Linked DNA regions of Homo sapiens: all the other regions are linked to region 3. The links are contacts of gene promoters, found by promoter capture Hi-C in blood cells and fetal thymus (Javierre and others, 2016). All regions are on one chromosome and are shown on one strand. Each heading gives the region's core, a stretch centred on a gene start or on the middle of the fragment in contact. The rest is flanking DNA. Distances are from core to core; before and after follow the strand shown. Region 1 holds the start of RPS12 (ribosomal protein S12). Region 2 overlaps HBS1L (HBS1 like translational GTPase). Region 3 holds the start of TBPL1 (TATA-box binding protein like 1). Region 4 overlaps HBS1L (HBS1 like translational GTPase). Region 5 has its middle 9.1 kb from the start of VNN2.

Region 1 (2,700 bases), core at 68-2,567, 1.1 Mb before region 3:
CTTACTGCGTTACCCATTTTTGTTTTTTTCGCTGCACTCACCAGTCTAACAGTATCTGCCCACTGGATTCACAGCGCTGGCACGTGCCAAGCGCCTAATAATTGCTCACTGGTTTGGCGGCTGACTACCCAGGAGAGGAAATTAAACACAAAGGCAGTATTGATCATATTCAGTAGTGTTTCGTGCGTTTGGTTTGGAAGTGGGGATTGGGGAATGGCCAATCACTTCCAAATTTAAAATATTGCTTCCTGGAAGAAAATGGACTCCTCAAAGACTGGATATTTCATGTCTGTAGTCCCAGGACCTGGCCCTGCGTCAGGCACATTGTAGGTGTTGAAAATGCACCTGAGGAATTCTGAGTTGCGCGGAACTGTGTATTCCGAGCACAACGCGTCGTTAAAAACCAAACAAAGCAGAACAAACTTCGTTCAGAAGCGACTCCCGCTATACTTAGAAACTAGAATTGACCCCTGGCTGCAGGGTTCCGCTTTACCAACACACCGCAGGGAAAGGGCTTAGAAATAGTGAAAGCGGCCGGGGGCGGCGGGTCACGCCTCTAATCCCAGCATTTTGGGAGGCCGAGGCGGGTGGATCCCCTGAGGTCAGGAGTTCGAGACCAGCCTGGCCAACATGGTGAAATCCCGTCTTTACTAAAAATACAAAAAATTAGCCAGGGTGGTGGCAGGCGCCTGCAATCCCGGCTACTCGGGAGGCTGAGGCAGGAGAATCGCTTGAAACCGGGAGCCGGAGGTCGCAGTAAGCTGAGATCGCGCCATTGCACTCCAGCCTGGAAGAGTGAAAGCATGTAGGCTCTCGTTTCATGAAGACAAAGATGAGGATCACACCCACAACGACACAAACATGGTCTCTCAGGGTGACTTAGAAGCGAAGGAACAAAGTGCGCTGCCTGGGGAGGCTGGGTCTTGTAGAAGCAACAGGAAAGTAGAACGTGGTGTGGAAAGGGTTAAAACTGGCGCTCGGCGGGATACAGGGCTCTAGGTGCCTTAAAGAACACGCGGACACACTTGTTTGGCTTCTGTCGCGCTCCGTAGAATGAGTTCCCTGGGCCTCGGTGGGCCACGCCTCCGCAAAGAAGGACAACGCGAAGCTGCCCGCGTAGTGCCTGTTGCACTCGCCAAGGACCGGCCTGGCAGAGATAGAAAACTCGCAGTACGTTTGCCTCAGAACCGCCTCAATCCGGAAACAGAAACTCCCCAGGCCCGGCACTGCGGGAGCCACCTCTTTCGAGGGTGGGAGTGCACATGCGCACAGGGGACCTGAAAAACCCTTAAATACCGGCATGCGTGCGGATGAGGCCTCTTTCCCTGCCGCCGCCGAGTCGCGCGGAGGCGGAGGCTTGGGGTAAGTTGAGCGAGGCGGCAGGGGGGTGTATTGGTTATAATTTGTGGCTCGTTGCGTTCTTGCTGGGATTCGTGACGAGTATCTGGTTCTTTAACAAGTCAATGCTTTTGTTTTTTAGTGCGTTCAAGATTCAACTTCACCCGTAACCCACCGCCATGGCCGAGGAAGGGTGAGCCCAGGGGCCGGGGTTGGAGTTGGGGTCGGGGTGCGGCTGAGGCGTGGGGCTAGAGCTGGCGGAACAGGACTGGGTCAAACGGGTCGCCGTAAGCGCGTCTGTTGTACACTTAGCTTTTGCTGAGTGCAAGGCCTTATGTGGTGTGAGGATTTTAACTGATGGTTCTGATGTGTCGCGTTTAAGCATTGCTGCTGGAGGTGTAATGGACGTTAATACTGCTTTACAAGAGGTTCTGAAGACTGCCCTCATCCACGATGGCCTAGCACGTGGAATTCGCGAAGCTGCCAAAGCCTTAGACAAGTACGTGTATCAGTCTCAATACTGTGGGTTCTTGCAACCGGAACAAAACTGCCACCCAAGGGAAGAAGGCATGGAGTTCATGGTGTTAGCGCAAAAGTTCTGAATGGCATCCGTCCTACCGGAAACCTAGGAAAAGGTATCAGAACTCAGATCTATAAAGCCCACTTAAAATGTGTGGGTTGCTGTTTGGAATGGGGATAAGCACTCAAAACTACAGTGTTTGAATGATGACTTTAATTGTCGGATACCCCTTCACTCCTTTTATGAGTGAAACATAAGAGTCTGACAAACCTGTAGGTTGTGGAGCTAGTCAGTCTTATACTTATCTGGCAGATAGATGAGATGGAGAGCCACATTACATCTGGTAGTTTGCAAAACAAGCATTAATTTAATGGAATTTCAAACTCAGGTTTCAGAAGCATTTGGTCCTAGATGAATTTAGTAGTATAATAGCTGTGATTTATTTGAATTTGGGATATTTGTTAATGTATTTGAATGGATCGAGTTAATGTGTTTTTTAGGGTGGTGGCATTGACAAATCAACCTACTCTTGAGCTGAATTTAAATGCAGTTTTAAGGTTTTACAGGACAAGTTCGTTTTGGTGTAATCTAGCCAGTTCAATCCGATGGAAACGGCATTATTGTTTAATGTATTTAGTAGGTCCTAGTATGAGTCTTCTGTATTTCTATTTCGGCATTATTGCATGGCATTTCATAACTGTTCCATTAATGCCACAGTCTTTTTTTTTTCTTTTTTCTTTTTTTTTTTTGAGACAAAGAGTCTTGCTCTGTCCCCCAGGCTGGAGTGCAGTGGCGCGATCTCATTGCAACCTCTACCTACCAGGTTCAAGCGATTCTTCTGC
Region 2 (2,700 bases), core at 42-2,541, 1.0 Mb after region 3:
TCTGTTATGTAACTTGTATGCATTATTTACCTTTCTAAAGTTCTAACATTTCTGAATTCTAAAACCATTGCTCTAAAGGGTTTCAGGTAAAGGCTGGGATTCTATTCTTCGTGTAGGGTTATGAGAATCAAATTATCTAGTGTTCTATAAACTCAAATGGGCTACGTAGTCTGTTAGGTGGCCAAGTAAATCATTTTCCTTAATTTTCTAGATAACCTGTATTTTTAAAATGTTAACAAATACATAGTCAATTGGTTTTCAACCAGGGTACCAGCACCATTCAATAGGGAAGGAATAGTCTTTTCAACTCATCGTGCTGGGAAAACTGGATATCCATATGCAAAACAATGAAGCTCTCTACCTTACATATGTACAAAACTTAACTGAAAATGGATCAAAGACCTAAATATAAAAGCAAAAACAACAAAACTCTTAGAAGAGAACATAGCACAAAAGCTTTATGACATTGGATTTGGCCATGATTTCTTGGATAATACACCAAAAACATAGGCAACAAAGGAAAAAATAAACTGTACTTCAACCAAATTAAAAACTTTTGTGCAACAAAGGACACTACCAAGAAAATGAAAAGGCAGCCTAGAGAATAGGAGAAAATATCTGCAAATCATGTATGTAATAAGGGATGATATTAAGAACTTCTATTAATAACAACACAACCTAATTCAAAATGTGCAAAGGATTTAAAAAGACATTTCTCAAAGATATACAAATGGCCAATAAGCACATGAAAAGATGTTCAGCATCTAATTAGAGAAATCCAAACCAAAACCACCATGAGACACCACTTAACAACTATTAGTTTGCCTATTATATTTTTAAAATCCCTCTCCCACACCCCACTACTAGAAAACTTGTTATTTAATGTGTTGACAAGAAAGTAGAGAAAATAGAACCCTTATGCACTGCTGGTGGGAATGTAAAATGGTAGAGCCCCTGTGGAAAATGGTTTAGCAGTTCCTCAAAAAGTTAAACACAGAATTACCATATGATCCAGCAATTCCACTCCTAGGCATATGCCCAAAAGAATGGAAAGCAGGAATCTCAATAGATACTTGTACACCCGTTTTCACAGCAGCATTATTTGTAATAGCCAAAAGATGGAAATAACCCAAATGTGCATCAACAGATAAATGGATTTTTAAAAGGTGGTATATACATGCAATGGAATGTTATTCAGGCTTAAAAGGGGATGAAATTCTGATGCATATTACAACATGGACAAACCATGAAAACAATTTGCTAAGTGAAATAAGCCAGACACAAAAGGACAAATATTGTATGATTCCACTTACATAAGGAACCTAGAGCAGGCAAATTCACAGAGAAAGTAAGTAGAAGAATGGTTATCAGGGGATACCAAGAGGGAATAATGGGAAGATACTGTGTCATGGGTACAGATTTTCAGTTTGGGATGTTGAAGAAGTTCTGCAGATGAATAGTAGTGATGACTGGCCAGGCGCAGTGGCTCAATGCCTATAATCCCAGCACTTTGGGAGGCCAAGGCGGGTGGATCACCTGAGGTCAGGAGTTCAAGACCAGCCTGGCCAACATGGTGAAACCCCGTCTCCACTAAAAATAAAACAAATTAGCCAGGCGTGGTAGTGCACACCTGTAGTCCCAGCTACTCGAGAGGCTGAGGCAGTTCCGGGAGGCTGAGGCAGGAGAACTGCTTGAGCCCAGGAGGCAGAGGTTTCAGTGAGCCAAGATTGTGCCACTGCACTCTAGCCTGGATGCCAAAGCGAGACTCCATCTCAAGAAAAAAAAAAAAATGAACAGTAGTGATGACTGCACAACATTGTGGAGGTACTTAATGCCACTGATTGTACACTTAAAAATGGTAAGTTCTATGTCACATATATATATATATAAAATAATAAAAATCAAATATAAATTCACTTAAAGTCTAATCCATTCTTCTATTATTTCCTCTTAAAAAATATAGAGTAAGAGAGAAGATTCAAATAAGCTCAATTCAAAAGGAAAATGGAGACATTATAAACGACACCACAGATATACAAAAGATCATTTGAGACTACTATAAACACCTCCGTGCACACACTAGAAAATCTAGAGGAAACGGATAAATCCTGGAAACATACAACCCTCCAAGCTTGAATCAGGAAGAAATAAGAAATCCTAAACAGACACATATCAAGCAGTGAGAATAAATCAGTAATAAAAAAAAAATTTTCAACAACAACAAAAAAGCTCAGGGCCAGATGGATCCATAGCCAAATTCTACCAGACATTCAAAGAAATAATACCAATCCTACTGAAACTATTAAAAGACTGAGAAAGAGAGAATCTTCTCTAACTCATTCCATAAAGCCAGTATCATCACCCTGATAACAAAACCAGGAAAGGACATAACAAAAAAAGAAAGCTACAGACCAACACCCCTGATAAACACAGATGCAAAAATCCCTAACAAAATACTAGCAAACCAAGTCCAACAGCATATCCAAAAGACATTTTATCATGATCAAGGAGGTTTCCTCCCAAGGATGCAGGAATGGTTCAGCATATGCAAGTCAATAAATGTGATTCACCACTGAAACAATTAAAAGCAAAAAAAAAACAGATGATCATCTCAATAGATGCGGAAAAAGCACTAGATAAAATCCAGGATCCCTTAATGATAAAATGTTCAATAAACTAGGCAAAGAGGAAACATACCTC
Region 3 (2,700 bases), core at 27-2,526:
ATTCCCACCAATCAGAGGCCAGGTACCCATGAACCCGGCTCGGCGTGGTCTTTTAATAATTAAATCAGGGCTGCCATTGACCTCAACTAACGCCAGGGGCTTCTGACTGCAGCCGAGCTCTGGTGGAAAGGCCGATGCCGGCCTGAGAGTGGGAAACGTGGGGCCGGGAGCCGGGGGCTTCCGCGCGGCGTGGCGTGGCGTGGCGTGGCGTGGCGCCCTCAGGGCCGTTACGCGATTTTCGCTCCCGCGGGCAGCGCCTCTCAGGCCACTCCCGAGGGACCCCGAGGACGCACTCGGGCCCCAGGGCGACGGTTCAAACGGGCCATTGTGCGCCCCCGGGGTCCCCCGGCCCCTGCAGGGCTACTTGGGCGCAGAGCCGCGGAGGGTCTCCGTTCCTAGAGGTCCTCCTATCCCGGGCTGCCTGAGTCCTCGCCAGCATCCGCCCTCTCCCACTCCCATCCTTCCTGGATCCGCCTCTCGGTTCCCGAGGGACAGTCCCGACCGCAAACCCACGTAGAGTAAGGAATGTGGGACAGGCGACAGAAGTGGCATACGGTCCTGCGTTATCCCTCCGTCTCGCCACACCTTGTGTCTCCATCTCTCCCCACTTCCTTCCCTCCGTCTGTCATCTGTCATCCCCGGTCGCTCTAAGACCAGGATTCCAATTCGCCTAGTGAGGAATCTCACTAGGGGAATTTATCGCGACATCATAAATTAACGGGTTCATTTTGACTGAAAAAGCGAAGGACTTTTTTCAGGCAGAAAACAAGTCTCGTCTGGACGGTAAGGACTAGCTTTAGCAATTATATAATGGGGGGTGGGGAGGACCTTTTGTATAAATTTAATGAGCTGATGAGAAAGTTCTACGGTTTTGACAAAAAAGTCCACCTAAATATTCGACTGTATGCCAGAAATTACTACACGTTTAGATATCAACTAAAAATATACAAAGGATACACGGTGTTTTCAGAACCCTTTCAAGCGGTTCTTAAACAAAAAAGTCTAGTCCGATGCCCATTAGCGCCGCCCCCATCCCACCTCTTACCTCCCACCGAGCCCAGCGGGTGGGCAGGAGGGGCCTGATTTGGGGACCAGGAAGGAGGAAGGAAGGGTGGGGGCGGGGGACGGGGAAAGTGACGGGAGCAGTGAGAGCCGGAAATGAGTGGCTAGCGAGGCACCCAGGAGCGCCCTGTCCGGCGGCGCTCTAGCCCTCGCGCACTGTCTCTATGCTCCCCAGCGTCTAGTCTATTTATTGTCGCGGGGAAGCTGCGGCCGCCTCGCACCCGGAACAACAAAGCAAGGAAGACGGAGTCCGAGCCTCGGGGGCTCCTAGCAACGGGCCGGGGCGGGAGTTCCATGGAGACTGGGGAGCGCGCCCGTCTCATCCTCATCCTTGTCCTCCAGCTTCTCCTTCGCATCCGACGCAACCGGCAGCAGCGCTGCCGCCGCGTCCTCAGCCACCGCTCCCTCTTCCCACGGTAACCCCCTAGGCGACCCTGGGCACAGGGAGCGCGGGCGGCTGAGCGGCCTGAGCACCGGGTGCGGGGCGTCTGGGCGCGGGGTGGGCATGTGCGGAGCCCGGGCCAGACTTGGGGTGGGATGTGTGGGGGCGGGCGACTGGAGGGCAGCCGCTGAGGTGGGGGAAACCGGTCCGGTGGCCGAGGGAGGGCTCAGTTCTGAAGAGGACCGGGCGATATTTGGGGATCTCTTTAGGGATAACGGGTTGGGGGTGGGGCGTCCGTACCTGGGAGCGTTACCGAGCCTGGTGTAGGATAAGAAAAGAAGGGTTATCTTTCGTTTAAGCCACCACTGGGAAAGACGGGGAAAAGAGATTCCTCATCTGTCTCGGAGCCATCACCCAGGGGAAGAGGGACCGTGCAAAGATGCTAGGGGTCCGTTGCTTCTCAGAAAACTTACAGCGGCTTCTCTAATAGCTCCCAAAAAGCGGCTTCGTCGGTTTCTGATTCTGGCAATGCCGGCAGCCTCGCTTTATTTTATTATTATTTTTGACCAAAATTAGGATTGATGGAGAAGGATCTAGAACTGAAGAAGAGAAAATGAATTGTGGGTAGGGCTAAGCAGGGATGAGAGTCGGGATAAGTGATAAAAATAGCCAATAAAAGCCCTAAAAGTAAATCTAATAGGGCATGAGGGCTTAAAAAGAAAATCTCTCCTGCCGAGATGTGCATCTGCAGGCTCTGTCAATGTGCTCATTGCAATAAGACTCAAACTGCAGTCAATCCACATCTGTGAGCTCTCTGACTGCATCTGTCACCTGCAGTTCCAAAGCGACACTGGCAGTAAGTGCATGAGCTTCTGTATTTAGGGTTTAGAACAGTGCCTTAAAACTGTGACTTAAGAAAAGGGAGCAGGTTTGCGTGTGTGTGTGTAAGCAATGTGGATTCTCTGGGAAAATATAAAAAGAGACATAAGAAGGTTCAGCCATCCTGGCATAATTTCGCAGTCTCTTTGAGAAAATGGCAGTTCCTTCCTATTGAGAAGTGACTGTTAGCACTATCTGGTTGAAAGGATTATTCACAGTTTGGTATGCCCAGTGAAATATCAGTTTATGTTACCTCTTTAGTCTTACATCACAAGCTGCTTAATGGTTTTATACTTTACAAAATCATTTTGGGTGAGTAAATGAGGTTTTCCTGTAGCACAATGAAAAGGCCACATATACATACAAAGTTCTTTATG
Region 4 (2,700 bases), core at 30-2,529, 1.0 Mb after region 3:
GCAGTGCTATTTTCATTGCTTTAATAATTTAAAGTTACGGTGATGCACAGCATAATGACGTTTTGGTCAACCATGGACCGCATACGTGATGGTGGTCCCATAAGATTATAATGGAGCTGAAAAACTCCCATTGCCTGGTGATGTCATAGTCGCCATAATGTCATAGCACCATGCATTACTCATGTATCTGTGATGATACTGGTATAAACAAATCTACTGCGCTGCCAATTGTATAAAAGAATATAGCATATGCAATTATGTATAGTACTTTATAATGATAATTATGATAGTGGTTTATGTACTTACTATTTTTCACTTCTGATGATCCTGATCCTGTGTAGGCCTAGGCTAATGTGCGTATTTGTGTCTTTGTTTTTCACCAAAAAAAGTTTAAAGTAAAAAATACATATTAAAAAAAGCTTATGGAATAAGACTATACAGAAAGAAAATATTTTCGTACAGCTGTACAACGTTTGTGCTTTAAGCTAAGTGTTATTATAAGAGAGTCAGAAAGTTAAAAAAAATTTAAATGTTTATAAAGTAAAAAAAGCTACAGTAAGCTAAGCTTAATTTACTATTAAAGAAAAACATATTTTTAAATAAATGTAGTGTCCCCTGAGTGTACAGTGTTTGTAAAGTATACAGTCGTGTCCTAGGCCTTCACATTCACTCACTGAATCACCCAGAGCAACTTCCAGTCCTGCGAGCTCCATTCATGGTAAGTGCCCTATACAGGTGTACCATTTTTTATCTTTTATGCCCTATTTTTACTGTACCTTTTCTATGATATGCTTAGATCAGTTTAGATACACAAATATTTACCACTGTGCCACAACTGCTTACAGTATTCAATACAGTAATATGTTATACATGTTTGTTGCCTTGGAACTATAGGTTCCATGTAGCCTAGGTGTATAAAAGATGTTACCATCCAGATTTGTGTAAGTAAACTCAAATATGTTCACAAATGATGAAACTGCCTAACAACTCACTTCTCAGAATATTTCCTTATCATTAAGGGATGTATGAATGCAAATTATATTTGATTTTTTGCAGTATTCTTATTAAGAATCATGTAATTTACAAATTGCAATGCTTTTTTAATATTATAAAGAAAGTAAATAAACCACTGGGCGAAAATACCCAAGCTTCATTATTTCTGCATAAACAAGCTCTTTAAAAAGATATAGAACTTGAATATATTGAAAGACATAAGGCAGATTTTGAAATACTCAGGCCAACTTATCAATAAAGGAAATATGAAGCTATACTCATCAAGTCCTTTACCATTACTTTTACGATAAAGAAACTCATAGCTTTTATACATTTTGTTTCTTTGTAAGAAATTTTAAAAGGTTTTACAAAGTACAGGTAGAAAGATCATGAAAAATACAATATTGCTCTTTTTGTTCAAGCTTTATAAAGGTTAAAATTTTTAATTTTAAAATATTTTAAAAGTCAAAATCCTAGAATTGTAACCTCAGCATCAGAAAATTTTATGTAAAGTACAATCAGCACACTATAGTGAAGAAAACAGCAGTTACCTGGGCTGCTCCTGTAATCATATTTGGAATGAAGTCCTTATGGCCTGGAGCATCCATTAATGTAATAACTTTGGTTGTGGTTTCAAACTTTGTCATACCAACATCCATGGTTACTCCCCTTAAACAAAACATAACATGGTTAGAATGTACGATATAAATAGTGCTATAGAGTAAATTAATAATAGTCTACATGACCATCTACATTCTTAGGTAAAAATGGAAATTGTTTTTATAGACTATTATTTTTGAATAATTAAATTATCAATCGGGGCTGGAATTTCTGCTATAATAGAAGTGCATCCATATGGTTTTAACATAAAAGGGAGGACAAAGTAAGAGCTCAATAAAAATGATAGTTATGCCCTATTATCTTATTTGTTTTGTAAGAAATAGTGTAAATTGTGAAGAAGGATACATGGGGACAACTCTAAATGGGGGGAAAATACTGCATATGAGAAAAGACAAATGCAAAATTACCACGACCGAGAGGTAATTTTCTTCACGTTCTACACTTATGCTTCACTAATTATAGAAATGAGCTTATAAAACTTAATTTGCAAGGCTGGTTAATATGCTACATATTTAGAAAACATAAGATATCAAAGCAGATGCCTAATTTTTAAAAAACAGAGATAGATGAACAGCAGATTGCTTTGTATCCTATTTAATTCTTCCTGGAGACCAACATAGTGCCTTTTTTCAGCCACAAAAATGTAGATTCAGATTAGTGAAATGCTTGGGACTAGAAGCTTTTCAAATTACAGACTTTTTTGGACTTGGAATATTTGCATATACAAAATGAGGTATCTTGGGGATGGGACCCACATCTAAACACAAAATTCCTTTGTTTCATATACACATTATACACATAGCCTGAAGGGAATCTTATGCAACATTTTCAGTCATTTTGTGTGACCTGTCACATGAGATCAGATGTAGAATGTTTCACTTGTGATGTCATGTCAGCACTCAAAAAGTTTCAGATTTTGGAGCATTTCAAATTTCATATTTTCAGATTAGGGATGCTTAACCTGTATAAGAAGGCCCAAGGAAGGTCTACAAGGGCACTCAGTCATTCTAGGCCTCAGGAATTTAAACAGGGAAATCATGTGGCAATAAACTAGGTTTGCCCCAGAATCACCCAAAGTAAGGAATA
Region 5 (2,700 bases), core at 162-2,661, 1.2 Mb before region 3:
TATAATATACTGCTTTTTGTGTCTGGCATGCTATTGTTGACCTATCATCAACATGAAATACACTCTGAATTGTTTTAGTACTGATGATAAAATTGCACTGAGCTACAAGTCAAAATTTGTTATGACATCATGCTTTCCTAGGTGGTCCCTTGTAATACTCAACTATAAGTAAGCTGGGATTAGAAGTCCAGCTGTAGGTTTTCTGAAAGAAACTACTGCAAATATTTAGGAGTTGCAAGCTGCTCTTAATGAAGATTGGCTATGCAGAATTTAGTTTCCTTTGTTAATACTTTAAATAACATTTTAGCTTCTCCATGTAAATATGTTGTGTCTGAGCCTCCCCTCCTGTGGGTTTGTTTCATAAAACGGGGTCATGTGACAGTGACACCAAAGAAATGGTGAGTATCATGGGACTACCCTGTGGGTAATTTCCTTCTGATATGAATGTGTAGAGATACTTCTCAATTATTAATTGCACTTAATGAAAGTTGATTGGCTATATAAGAATTTATTATCCACATCTTTTCCAGCTAGGTTAGAGAGGGTATCTGTGACGTATTTAAATCTTGATCATTAAACAAATAAGTAAATAGGATATTTCTTATTTATTTATTTATTTATTTATTTATTTATTTTGAGACAGAGTCTTGCTCTGTCACCCAGGCTGGAGTGTAGTGGCGTGATCTCAACTCACTGGAACCTCCGTCTCCCAGGTTCAAGCGATTCTCCTGCCTCAGCCTCCTGAGTAGCTGGCATTACCATGCCCGGCTAATTTTTGTATTTTTTTGTAGAGATGGAGTTTCACCATGTTTGCCAGGCTGGTCCTGAACTCCTGACTTCAGGTGATCCGCCCACCTCGGCCTCCCAAAGTGCTGGGATTATAGGCATGAGCCACCATGGCTGACCAGATATTTCATTAATGCGTGATATTTAATATTTATTGTCAAAATCAAGTTTCTTATCTAAAATAAATGAGTTAGTTGAAAACAAACTAATCATGCAATTATCACGCAACTCAGCAGTTGTATTGCTGGGCATTTATTCCAGAGAAGTGAAGTCTTATGCTTCATATCCCACCCTCTACCCTCGCCCCTGGCAAAAACAAACAAACAAACAAACAAAAAACCTGTTTCTGAAAGTTCATAGCTGCTTTATTTGTAACAAATAAAGTAGTATTCCATTGTGTCTTAAAGCCACCCAATGGAATACTACTCAGCAATTTAAAGAACTGAACTATTGATACATGCAACAATGCCAATAGAACTCAAGGGCATTATGCTGACTGAAAAAAGCCAATCCAAAAAGTTTCATACAATACGATTTCATTTATACGTTTCTTGAAATGACCAGATGATAGAAATGGAGAAGAGATTAGTGGCTGCCAGAAGTGAAGATGGGAGGGAAGTGGGTGTAGCTACAAAAAGACAACGTGAAGAATGTGGCGATGGGAATGTTCTGTATCCTGGTTGTGCTATTGTACTATAGTTCTGCAAGATGTTATCATTGGTGAAAACCAGGGAAAGAATACTCATGATCTTTTTCTATTATTTCTTACAACTGCATGTGAATTAACAATTATCTCAAAATTTTTAAAGTTTAATTTTTAAAAATGATCTGTGATTTGTATTTAACCTTTTTAGTTTTCCTTTGGATTGATTTATGTATCATATTATAATGTATAGGTTGCAATATGATCTTAACATAAAAGATTCCTTTTATTACTAACATATTCCACATTCAGTTATATAGAATATTCTCATTATTAAAAAGGTTCTTTTAAGCTGCTCAGCCTTGTTACATTTAGAAGACTATAAATATATAAAAATACAAACACATACACAGAGATTTCCTTTGATAGTTTTGACCTACCTTTTGGTTTTCTTGTTCAAAGTGTTCTTTCCTCTGTCTTTTCTCATATTTTTTAAACTTTTCTGTGACTTTTTTTTTTTTTTTTTTTTTTGAGACGGAGTCTTGCTCTGTCACCAGGGTGGAGTGCAGTGGCGCAATTTCGGCTCACTGCAACCTCCTTCTCCCGGGTTCAAGCAATTCTCCTGCCTAAGCCTCCCAAGTAGCTGGGACTATAGGCGCACACCACCATGCCCAGCTAACTTTTGTATTTTTAGTAGAGATGGAGTTTCACCAAGATGGTCTTGATCTCTTGGCCTCGTGATCCATCCACCTCAGCCTCCCAAAGTACTGGGGTTACAGGCGTGAGCCACTGCTCCCGGCCCACTTATCTTAATACTTGCAAAATTTCAAAATGAGAAAGGAGTAAATTTGGTTTTGTACATAGCATCTTTAAATACACTGCTATCCAAGGGAAGTATTGAGAGCCGTGTGTTGGGAATGGGGATGAAGGAAGTTCTCTCCCCAGAGAGCCTCGAATCCTTGCGTTGACTTTGAATTCTCAACAATCAACTGTGCTGGTAACAGAATAGGCTGGCCCAGATAGTGGGTAGGAAGGTGCAAGCTGCAGACTCATGCTTTAATAGTGGCCCCAAGTGACAGTGGCAGGGACTGCAGGCACTCAGCCGCATCCAAGACCACCGGGCTGAGGAAGGGCGGCTGTCCTTGCGTGGGTGGACATGAAGGTCAAAAAAGTCCTGGAGGGGGCCAGGATGACTTAAGGCAATCAAGGCCCAGATCTGCATGCCACATGGGTGCAGGGGGCCAGGGTCACACTCTGTCCTGGCACTGCTC

The links. Contacts are between HindIII fragments. The CHiCAGO score rates a contact against its expected background, and 5 or more counts as called.
Region 1: the fragment with the promoter of RPS12 here is called in contact with the fragment with the promoter of TBPL1 in region 3 in 8 of 17 cell types (activated CD4 T cells, non-activated CD4 T cells, total CD4 T cells and 5 more); the score reaches 13.0 in activated CD4 T cells.
Region 2: a fragment that was not itself captured here is called in contact with the fragment with the promoter of TBPL1 in region 3 in 1 of 17 cell types (M0 macrophages); the score reaches 5.6 in M0 macrophages.
Region 4: a contact is called between a fragment that was not itself captured here and the fragment with the promoter of TBPL1 in region 3, in 1 of 17 cell types (total CD8 T cells). The highest score is 5.1, in total CD8 T cells.
Region 5: a fragment that was not itself captured here is called in contact with the fragment with the promoter of TBPL1 in region 3 in 1 of 17 cell types (total CD8 T cells); the score reaches 6.4 in total CD8 T cells.

Annotation. Positions count from the first base shown.
Region 1 is chr6:132,813,252-132,815,951 of GRCh38, forward strand. RPS12 (ribosomal protein S12) reads left to right here and starts at 1,318. Exons shown (of 6, transcript NM_001016.4): 1 at 1,318-1,362; 2 at 1,481-1,531; 3 at 1,721-1,837. The coding sequence starts at 1,518. It overlaps SNORD101 (small nucleolar RNA, C/D box 101), which reads left to right and starts at 2,056; the gene lies at 2,056-2,128. It overlaps LOC107986644 (a long non-coding RNA gene), which reads right to left and starts at 1,037. Exons shown (of 3, transcript XR_001744345.3): 1 at 42-1,037. RefSeq lists enhancers at 283-1,029, 944-1,223, 1,654-1,783. The HindIII fragment of the contact is 13,401 bases long and covers 1-2,700 here.
Region 2 is chr6:134,972,062-134,974,761 of GRCh38, forward strand. The region is part of intron 15 of HBS1L (HBS1 like translational GTPase); the gene reads right to left. Among named protein-coding and RNA genes, the nearest start is that of MIR3662, 6.0 kb to the right of the region's middle. The HindIII fragment of the contact is 1,675 bases long and covers 455-2,129 here.
Region 3 is chr6:133,951,948-133,954,647 of GRCh38, forward strand. TBPL1 (TATA-box binding protein like 1) reads left to right here and starts at 1,277. Exons shown (of 7, transcript NM_004865.4): 1 at 1,277-1,478. LOC128092253 (umcharacterized LOC128092253) reads left to right here and starts at 1,357. Exons shown (of 2, transcript NM_001414965.1): 1 at 1,357-1,478. The coding sequence starts at 1,357. RefSeq lists a silencer at 275-384. The HindIII fragment of the contact is 10,274 bases long and covers 1-2,700 here.
Region 4 is chr6:134,992,214-134,994,913 of GRCh38, forward strand. HBS1L (HBS1 like translational GTPase) reads right to left here. Exons shown (of 18, transcript NM_006620.4): 8 at 1,545-1,662. Among named protein-coding and RNA genes, the nearest start is that of MIR3662, 14 kb to the left of the region's middle. The HindIII fragment of the contact is 267 bases long and covers 1,147-1,413 here.
Region 5 is chr6:132,765,636-132,768,335 of GRCh38, forward strand. No RefSeq gene overlaps it. Among named protein-coding and RNA genes, the nearest start is that of VNN2, 9.1 kb to the left of the region's middle. RefSeq lists an enhancer at 2,571-2,700. The HindIII fragment of the contact is 5,294 bases long and covers 1-2,700 here.